3 separate regions of the Homo sapiens genome follow, and all the other regions are linked to region 3. The links are contacts of gene promoters, found by promoter capture Hi-C in human tissues and cell types (Jung and others, 2019). All regions are on one chromosome and are shown on one strand. The core of a region is centred on a gene start or on the middle of the fragment in contact, and the rest is flanking DNA. Distances in the headings are between cores, read along the strand shown.

Evidence for each region. The method cuts DNA at HindIII sites, captures the fragments that hold promoters and counts their contacts. A contact is called where the count stands out against the background at its distance.
Region 1: a fragment that was not itself captured here is called in contact with the fragment with the promoter of GPD2 in region 3 in 1 of the 25 tissues and cell types used here (lymphoblastoid cells).
Region 2: a fragment that was not itself captured here is called in contact with the fragment with the promoter of GPD2 in region 3 in 1 of the 25 tissues and cell types used here (mesendoderm cells).

What each region holds. Positions count from the first base shown.
Region 1 is chr2:156,900,111-156,902,921 of GRCh38, forward strand. No RefSeq gene overlaps it. Among named protein-coding and RNA genes, the nearest start is that of LINC01958, 230 kb to the left of the region's middle. The HindIII fragment of the contact is 4,197 bases long and covers 1-2,811 here.
Region 2 is chr2:156,012,091-156,015,090 of GRCh38, forward strand. No RefSeq gene overlaps it. Among named protein-coding and RNA genes, the nearest start is that of LINC01876, 240 kb to the right of the region's middle. The HindIII fragment of the contact is 3,136 bases long and covers 1-2,977 here.
Region 3 is chr2:156,435,071-156,437,770 of GRCh38, forward strand. It overlaps GPD2 (glycerol-3-phosphate dehydrogenase 2), which reads left to right and starts at 1,309. Exons shown (of 17, transcript NM_000408.5): 1 at 1,309-1,443. RefSeq lists silencers at 411-580, 1,021-1,430 and an enhancer at 821-870. The HindIII fragment of the contact is 7,799 bases long and covers 1-2,700 here.

The DNA.
Region 1 (2,811 bases), core at 13-2,512, 460 kb after region 3:
TTTCAACTTATAAATTCACGGCCAGAGTTAGGAAGACTGCTTTTACTTGTAGAAAAAATGTATATGTTAACAAAAATAATGAGGTAAAAATTCAAATGTAACAGACAGAAGGTAGGATATATGAAAGGTGGCAGAAGGTAGAGGAAGAGGTAGAAGAGCTAACATATTTAACAAAGTCAGGAACAAAGTGATATTATTGAAAATGACCATCTCAGATTTCAAACCAAGGCAATATAAGGTCATGTTTCAAAATACTCTCTTGTATTCAAGCAATATAGCAATTCTTGACAATATTGGTTCCATGATCTTTTCCCTCAAGCCCCTCTGAACAAGTCTGATCTCCATGAACTTCACAATGGTAAGAGTGATCTAATCATGAAGTTGCTACAATCACTTCTATACCAAACTGTGGCAGGCAGGATAATGTACCTCCCCAAAAAAGATGTCTGTTGTTTCAAAATGCTAAGCTTGTGATACTTTGTTACAGCAGCAATAGGGAACTAATTCACAAGCCAATTTACACAGCTCATCAAGAGAATGGATTTCTGCCATTTCTCTGTCCAAGGTCACTTTCAGGCCTTGTGGCGAAAATATACTAGAGAAAAGAAAAAATATATAGATTTGCAACTACATGATGTTTATTCATTCAGTATTTCTGTGTAGTATTTCAGCCCTAGTTGCACATTAGAAGCATCCGAGGTACTTTAAAAAATAACATGAGCCAGGCCCTACAGTAAAACAATTAAATCAGAATCTTTGGGAATGAGATTCTGGGCACCAATATTTTTTGAAATGTCACTAGGTGATTTTATTGTGAAGTCAGAGTTGAAGACCAGTGGTCTACATGACTCAGGTAAGTTACTGAGAGACACAAGAGGCAATACATGTACCCTTAAAACATGCAGGATTAGTATAAGATCTTATTAATAAGCCACATTCTCCCCCTTGTTCCTCTCATGCTCTTGCTAGATAATAAGTTTCTCCACCTAAATTGCTATATACTTTTATTTTCATGCAATTTCCTCGCTATAATTATTTTAAAAATGAGAATCATTTTGTCAAGACATCTATGAATACTGAATGGGAAATTCTGAATCCTTATCTCAACTTGATCAGCTCCTACTGAGATCTTAGTTCTCCTCACTTTTTATGTCAGAGGAAGGGAAAGTATCCTCTTAGTTCTGCTGCCTTCTGTTCTCTGGCTATCCATTAGGTCCTATTAATATGTACTGTCTTTTCTAAATTTATTAACTTAACTCATTTTCTACTAACTCAACAACATGCTGTTTCTCTCTCCATACAACTGATTCTTTCTCTGGAAGTCTTCTCTGATTAATTATGTACAGAAAAAGATTAAATTAGAAGGATATAACCATACTCAAAAGCAAAGAAAGCCTCATTGTGAAACTGAACCAGAAGAGAAATAAAAAACAGCAAGTGGGGCAAAGGCTGTGGCTGTCTGAGTACCACATCTGTCAGTTGAGGAATGTTCAAGGGTAAAAGGACTAGAGAAAAGGACATGCTTGAAATTGGGGAGTAAAATAAGGCATCTTCAACCCAGAAAGGAAGCTGTATAAAGCTGTAACAGGTCACTGACTGGGACCAATGCCTATATGAATTGAGCTGCATTTCTAAGAAAAGGAAGGACTCTACGTCGCATCCAAAGTCTGGGCCAAGCTACCCAGATACTCGAGTATCTGGAATTGAAAATATTCACAATTACCCTGCAGCCCAGGGGTAACATTCTTCCAGGACAGCTCATTATCTGGCCTGAAGGCCCCAGGCAGAAAGTGATGTGTAGTCAACTTAAAACTTCACACACGAAAAATGGTGGGGAGAGAAAGACAAGGAAAGGCAGAGACAGAGAGATTGTAGTAAACTCCCAACCAAGAAATGTCTGAAAATGATTATTAAAAATGAATGCTCAAAAGACAGCTGACAAAATAAAAATCAATTGCTGGGAGATGAATTCAATGTAGATAAAAATGAAAATTATAACGTTACCAAAAAAAGACTTCACAAACACATTGAGAATCTCAAAAAGATAAAATACTGAATTGTATCTACTAAAATAACCCCTAAGAAACTGTGAAACAAAAAGCAATCATAAATTAAAACAATTCTTTTAAAAAATTCAAAAACAATATTAGGTAGACATGAAAGAATAAATTAGAAATGCTGAAGTTTTCTTTTTAAGGAGAATTTACAAATCTCAAGAGAAAAAAGTAACATTTAGACAGAGATGAAGAGAGAATTCATGATTCAAGAGATAGCACCAAGGATTTAGTCCAGATTGCAACACAGAGAAACTGAGTTAAAAAAATACTAAAGAGCAGCTAAAAAAAACCATGTTTAGTTGTTTTTTTCTTCGCATTTTTTTAAATGCTAAAGTAATGTTTCTTTATAAATTTAGGAAATATGGAAAATTAAAAGGAAGAAAAAATTCACCCATAGTTCCATCATACAAATTCAATTTCTGAGAGTTTTATTTTTGTGTGTTTTATCTTACATTCTTCTTCATCTTTAATATTTCCATGTATGGGATTTTGGTTGGTTGCTTTTTAAATTTCTTTTTACACAATTGTAATCATGCTGTATACACACTTCTGGTTTTTAAAAACATTTCAGTAAGCTTTTCAACATCTTTAAGTCCTTTTGAAAACTATGCATTTAAAAAAATATATAGCTATTGTATTTATTTATTCAACAAATATGTCCTGTGAACTAATGATAGTTCAGGCACAAACTGTTCTAGGTACTAGAGATAGAGCAGAAAATCACCTTTCCTCATGGAGTTTACACATGAGTGGG
Region 2 (3,000 bases), core at 160-2,659, 420 kb before region 3:
AAGTAAGATGGAGTTAGTTGGTTAGGTCAGATACATTTCACTGTCTCAGTTATAATTTTGCAATGGCAGTTTCACCCACACCCTAGTCTCTCTTTTTTTTTAACTTCAGAAATTTATTCTCAATTTCATCTCAAAGGCTAAAGGTTAATATAACATAAAAACTCTTCAAAATATTGTCTTCTTCCTGAGAATGACTTGTTGACCTTTAGGAGGTATTAGTTTTTCTGTGATACATATTTAGGAAATAAAGATGCTCATAACTAATAACCTTACTTTCCTCTTGTCAGTGAATCCAGAATTTCTAAGTTTGTTGTTGTTTAAGACAGTGAAGAGAAACAAGATAGGATTCTATCAGAGTTCCTGGCACAATTTGTCTACCTAACTTTTTCCCTAAGAGTGTTTTCTTTTTCCTCTCTCACCCTCTTAATAAGAATGTTAAGATCCTGAAGTTTTATAAAAGACAACGTGTCTTAGTATTGGCATCCTTGTATGGTGGAATATCTCTAGGCTGGAGAAATGTATTCTATTCAAATTCCAGCCCTCTTTTATTTTGGCATCAAAAGGCATTTGTGTTTTCTGCAGCAAAAATGAAAAATGATAGGACCACCTTTTTACTGTTTTCTCCTACTAGGCAGAGGGTTCACTCTTGAGGGCACACATATTTTTTTTTTTCCTTCCAATAATGCCATTTTATTTTTTAATAAACACGAAGTGAATGTTTTCTGAGAGGAGAAAGACATGGCCTCAGAGAATTCTAATACTGACTAGGTTGTTTATCTTCTAACCGAAAATGTATTTATTGTTTGCTGCACCTTCACTCAACTTGCAGTCTAAGTTTGAGAGGGGGAGAGAGACAGAGAGAGAGAGAATTGATTAAGGAAGAAGATAGGAAACTACAGGAAGGAAAGTGTTTTAGGTCATCGGTTCTTAACAGCCATCTTTTCTGCCATATAGAAATCATAAAGGAAATAATTTAAAATTGGCAAACAATGTCAATCTTTCTAAAAGCTTATTATGTTATAAAGAAAGTCAACCTATATATGAATAAATGGAGTTAAAGAAGAAAACTCAACCTTAGTTTTCTTCCTCTGTCTTTATCCTCTTTATCATCTCCTAACATTGGACTACTTTAAACTTTCTTGAAAATTCCTTCTCTTTGATTCTCTGACCTAAGTAAAGTTACCTGGGGATGACCTCTGTTTATCCTGCCTTCTTGGAAATGTAGCCATCTCCTAAAGTTTTGTCCTTAAAACTCTTCTCTTCTCTTTCTGCACTCTTCTATTCAAAAAACACAATCATCCCTGTTGGCTCAATTATCACACTTAAGGAAATTTACTCCTAGATCTGTCTCTTCGTTCCTGATTACAATTCCCTAGTTGCAATAACACACTCAACATTTGTGTGTTATTTTATATCTAGACTGTTTTCCAGTTTCTTAATTCGAAAAGTCAGATTCATATTTTTTATCCTTTTTTACCCTCAATTTTATAACCAGTTCCCAAATCTCAATGCTTTTTGCATTGCACGTTCCTCTTCCCATTCTTATTGCCACCACCCGGTTTGAACCTTTTTTACTCCCTACCTTGATTGCCAGGATCACCGGTCATGTCTTGCCCTTCCCCACTAGTATTTATCCATCCTACACACTGTGGTCAGCTTAGTTTACTGAAAGCATTACTGAGATCCACTCCACCTAAAGAAATCACAATCTCCACTTTAAGATCCATTTGAAATTCCACTTCCTCCATGGCATTTTTCCTCTGTATACACACTATAATATCTTTATAATATCTTCCTTCTTTTACATCCCGTAATATTGAGTGTGTTTTATGTCAGTTGCCTTACCCCTATAGCTATTTTTGTGACAAAGCAGATAGAAAAAGAGAAATTCAGAACTTTTCAAAAAACCAGTATCACAAAAATGAATCTATGTCTCTCAATGTTATATTTTGCATCCTTTGCATATGTAAACTTTCAGAGTATTAATTTGATAACTGTTTTTCAGCATTCTTTGAATTCTTCATTCACTTGAATGTTACACATTAAGACTGAACTCTCTTAATTATTCAAAGACTATGATATAAAGTAAGATTGACACCTTCTGGGAAATGGTAATCTGGTACAAAACAAATGTAACTAGAAAGAGTGAGAGACGACATGGAATGCAACCTGTATGTACTATTATAGTTTTGTGAACTTTGAATTGGATTTCTGAAATAAAGCAGCTCACTTTTGCATTATCTGGAACCTGTCCAAAATGAAACCTCAACGACCTGTGATTCCTCAAGGCCACACAAAAGCCCAGCTCTAATGATGAACAATAACCTCCATTCTTCCTGTTTCTTAGCCTACTGTCACTGATGGCTTTTTAAATGGCTGCAAAAGTGACAATTACCCAACTCTCAGAGAAAAAAAAAATGTACTGCCAAATCAAGGGTGTAGCTAGCTCATTTATACAGATTAAAAATATCAATATTCTTTACCACTATTTTTCATCTTGCCCTATAGATATAGAATCACCCAAAAGCTAGCGGCCCAAAAAAAATTACATCATTTTTTAGTATTTTCATGGTACAAAATTGTTCTCATATGGCTGGTAATCTGAAAGATGGCTTATATTTAAAAAGAACTTCAACCAGAAATTAGCACATTTGGAGTCCACGTGACCATGGTCACAATGTTGAACAGCTCTCTTGACCTTATTCCCCACTTTTTGTTTTCCCTAAGGAGAAAGAAGTATGTTAACTTAGTTAAGTATTCAAATTAAATATCTTAAGTGAAAAATACTCAGGTCTGACTGGAAGAAAGAGGAGATTGAGTAGAAGGAAGAGATGACTTATAACTAAATTTTTGTATGCACAGTATGAAAAACAAAATGAAGTAATGTCAAACCCAGTGACTGCATGCTTCATAAAAACAGTGCTATCTCTCTTCACTTCAGTGAAAAGAAGCTTCCTCGAGTTACTTAAATGATTGGAGGCAAACATTTTATGGCAAAGA
Region 3 (2,700 bases), core at 59-2,558:
GGTTCCCTGAAGTTACTGAGTTTGGGATTTAATAAATATATGCATTCCTCTGGGTCAACTACAGGAATTCTGCGGTATTTAAGGACATTAAATGAGTGACTTAATACTTTATTTAAAAAAATACCACTGCTTTTTGGTTCACACTAATTTTCTTCCTTCTTTTGGAAAGGCATTTCCGTCCATCTCCTGGATATTTTCCAATACCACGATAGAAAGGTTATTAGTACAGCACCCAGAGGTCTTCGGAGCAAAGCTGTTAAAGAAGTGGGGTCCATTTGAGCCCCAACTTTGCCTTCCTTAGGTCCCCTTGGGCTTGTCTAGCCCTAGGAGTTCCAACAAGTAAGCTGGGCATGCTCAGTGGGCAGGGTCGTTTTTTTTTTTTGGGTGGCGGGGGGTTGCAAGTGGGAAGCCTGCTGTTCAGCTGCCGGGGCTCTCCGCCTCCCCCCACCTGTATGAGGCTGGGTCTGGGGAACCTGTGCTCAGCATTCCACCCCCTGGAGCTTGGGCTTGGTCTTCCCTGCGGGTCCCTGCGCTGACATTCAGGCGGGGAGCCAGGAGGCCTGGCGCGCCTCCAGAGCCCGCCGGGGGAGCCGGGCGAGGGTTCTGGGCTCTGACGGCGGGGTCGCAGGGTCGCCCGCCTCCTGGACACGTCTGTAGGCCTAGGGAAGCCTGCCGGCCGGGAGGTACAGAGTAGGAGAAGCCAGATCCCAGGGCGGACAACGAGAAGTCGTCAGGTAAGCCAGCCCCGCCAGCGTGCCGGCGGACGAGTGTCTCCTCTCCCGCAGGCAGATGGCCAGGGCGGCCCGCATGGGCGAGGGCACAGGAAATCGGACACCGCCACCGTCTTCCCCAGCCTGGCCTAGCTCAGGCTTTCCAGTCCGCCAGCCCGCTGGCAAGGCGGGGCGGAGGTCTGGAGTCCGGCATCGCCGAGGCACAAAGCAGGAACTGCAGCCAGGGGCGAGGGCCCTTGCGTGTGGCGCTGCGCGACCCCACCCGGCGGCAGGACCCGCGTCCCCGTCTAGTCACGTTCATTGGGCCACGGAGACCACCTCGCTCGCCGCCCGCTGTTGGCTTTTCCCTCCCACACCCCCGCCAACCCCGGCCCCGGTTCCCGCCCCCACTTCCGCGTTTCCCCGCTGGGCCGGAGGAGCCTGGGCCCGAGGTATCCGGGCAGGAGGTGGCGGCCTCGCCGCCCTGGTCAGGCCTCCGGGAGGGAGCAGGCGCGGGAGCGGGAGGAGGAAGTCGGGAAGAGGGAAGGCGGGGGCGCGGCCCGCCCGGCGCTCGAGTTACACCCGCCCAGCCCGCCTCGAGTGACAGCCCCGCGCGCCTCGCTGGGAGCACCCGGGCCGAGGCTCTGATTCTGGGGGGAGGCCGACTCCACCCTGGCTGGAGGAACTGGGTGCTCCTGCCCGCTGGCCCCTCGCGCGTGAGGATCTATCTCAGGTGTGTGCTTCCTGGGAGACCCCTTCCCCCGCCTCTAGTATTCTAGGGGGGGAGTGGTCCCTTTCTGACCCGGGCGAGTGTTCTGGGACTCCAGTCTTGGCGGTAGGTGGTGGCGGGAAACGGGAAAGATTTAGAATTTCTTCCCACCAGCAGAAGATGGATTCGCTCTTCTCTAGGGTTTCGTTGTTTATGTTTTGGAGGCGGCATTTGTAAAATAGTAAAGTGGCAGGACTTTTGGGGCGAGGGTTGGTACCCCATTGAAAGTTCATGCAAACTTTTAGCTTGTAGATGCGGCTAGTCTGATAAGGATTGTTGCTCCCTTCCGAAGCAAGAGTGAGAACGAGTCTGGAGGAGGGCTGAGGCTTCTTTGAGAAACTCAGCTGCTGGCGTGTGACCGTCCTAGGAGGAAATGGAAGGTGCACACTGATAACTTAAAACAGCCTCCACTCCCTATGTAGTAACTTCTACCAGCAAAAATAGATTTGCAAAGAGTGCTTTGGCAGGAAGGTGTAGCTGGGTGAATGAAGTGCTGCTCTTAGCAGATGGTCTCTAGTCTGGCTTCCACCTTGTGCAGTGGAATATTCACTCCCAGAAGAGTTCCAGAGTAATTTACAAACACAAATTCTTGCAAAGTGTTAGTGACATGGGCAACCCAAATCACACACAACACATTATAAATATCATAGGAGGCAGCTATAGAAATAGCAGCTAGTCAACTTATACTTGTATAAATAGGTGAGGGAAGGAAGTTAGTAAGTGACAGGGAGTCTTTATTGCTAAAACAAAACTGTTAGTATTTTGCATGTGTTCCAAGTTTAAAGAGATGTGAAGTTTCTTTTTGGCGTGTGGACGGTGCTGGCAGCTGTCACACTGGGCCCAGGCACTTCTTCGTAGCTACTGACCACTCTAGTCCCAGTCCTACAGTTCTTGCTGGCTACCACATGACATCTGGATGCCATTGCCCAATGGAGACCGTGTGCAGTCTGGGGAACCTTGTGATGTGGATGTTGAAACCCCCCTCTGTTTCTCACAGGGGCGTTATGTCAAATTACAACACTCCCTTGACTTTTACAAATCAACTCGTGAAATAATACAGCAATATTTTAATGAATAAATGGGTAAATATGGGGTTTTGGGTTTGAGAACCAACAATGGATTCATTGCAACTGTCCATTCTCATAGCTTATAGAGTCACTTTATTTTATAAAGAAATTCTAAACAGCATTAGAGCTCTGCTTCCTTCTTTCTCCCTTGTGA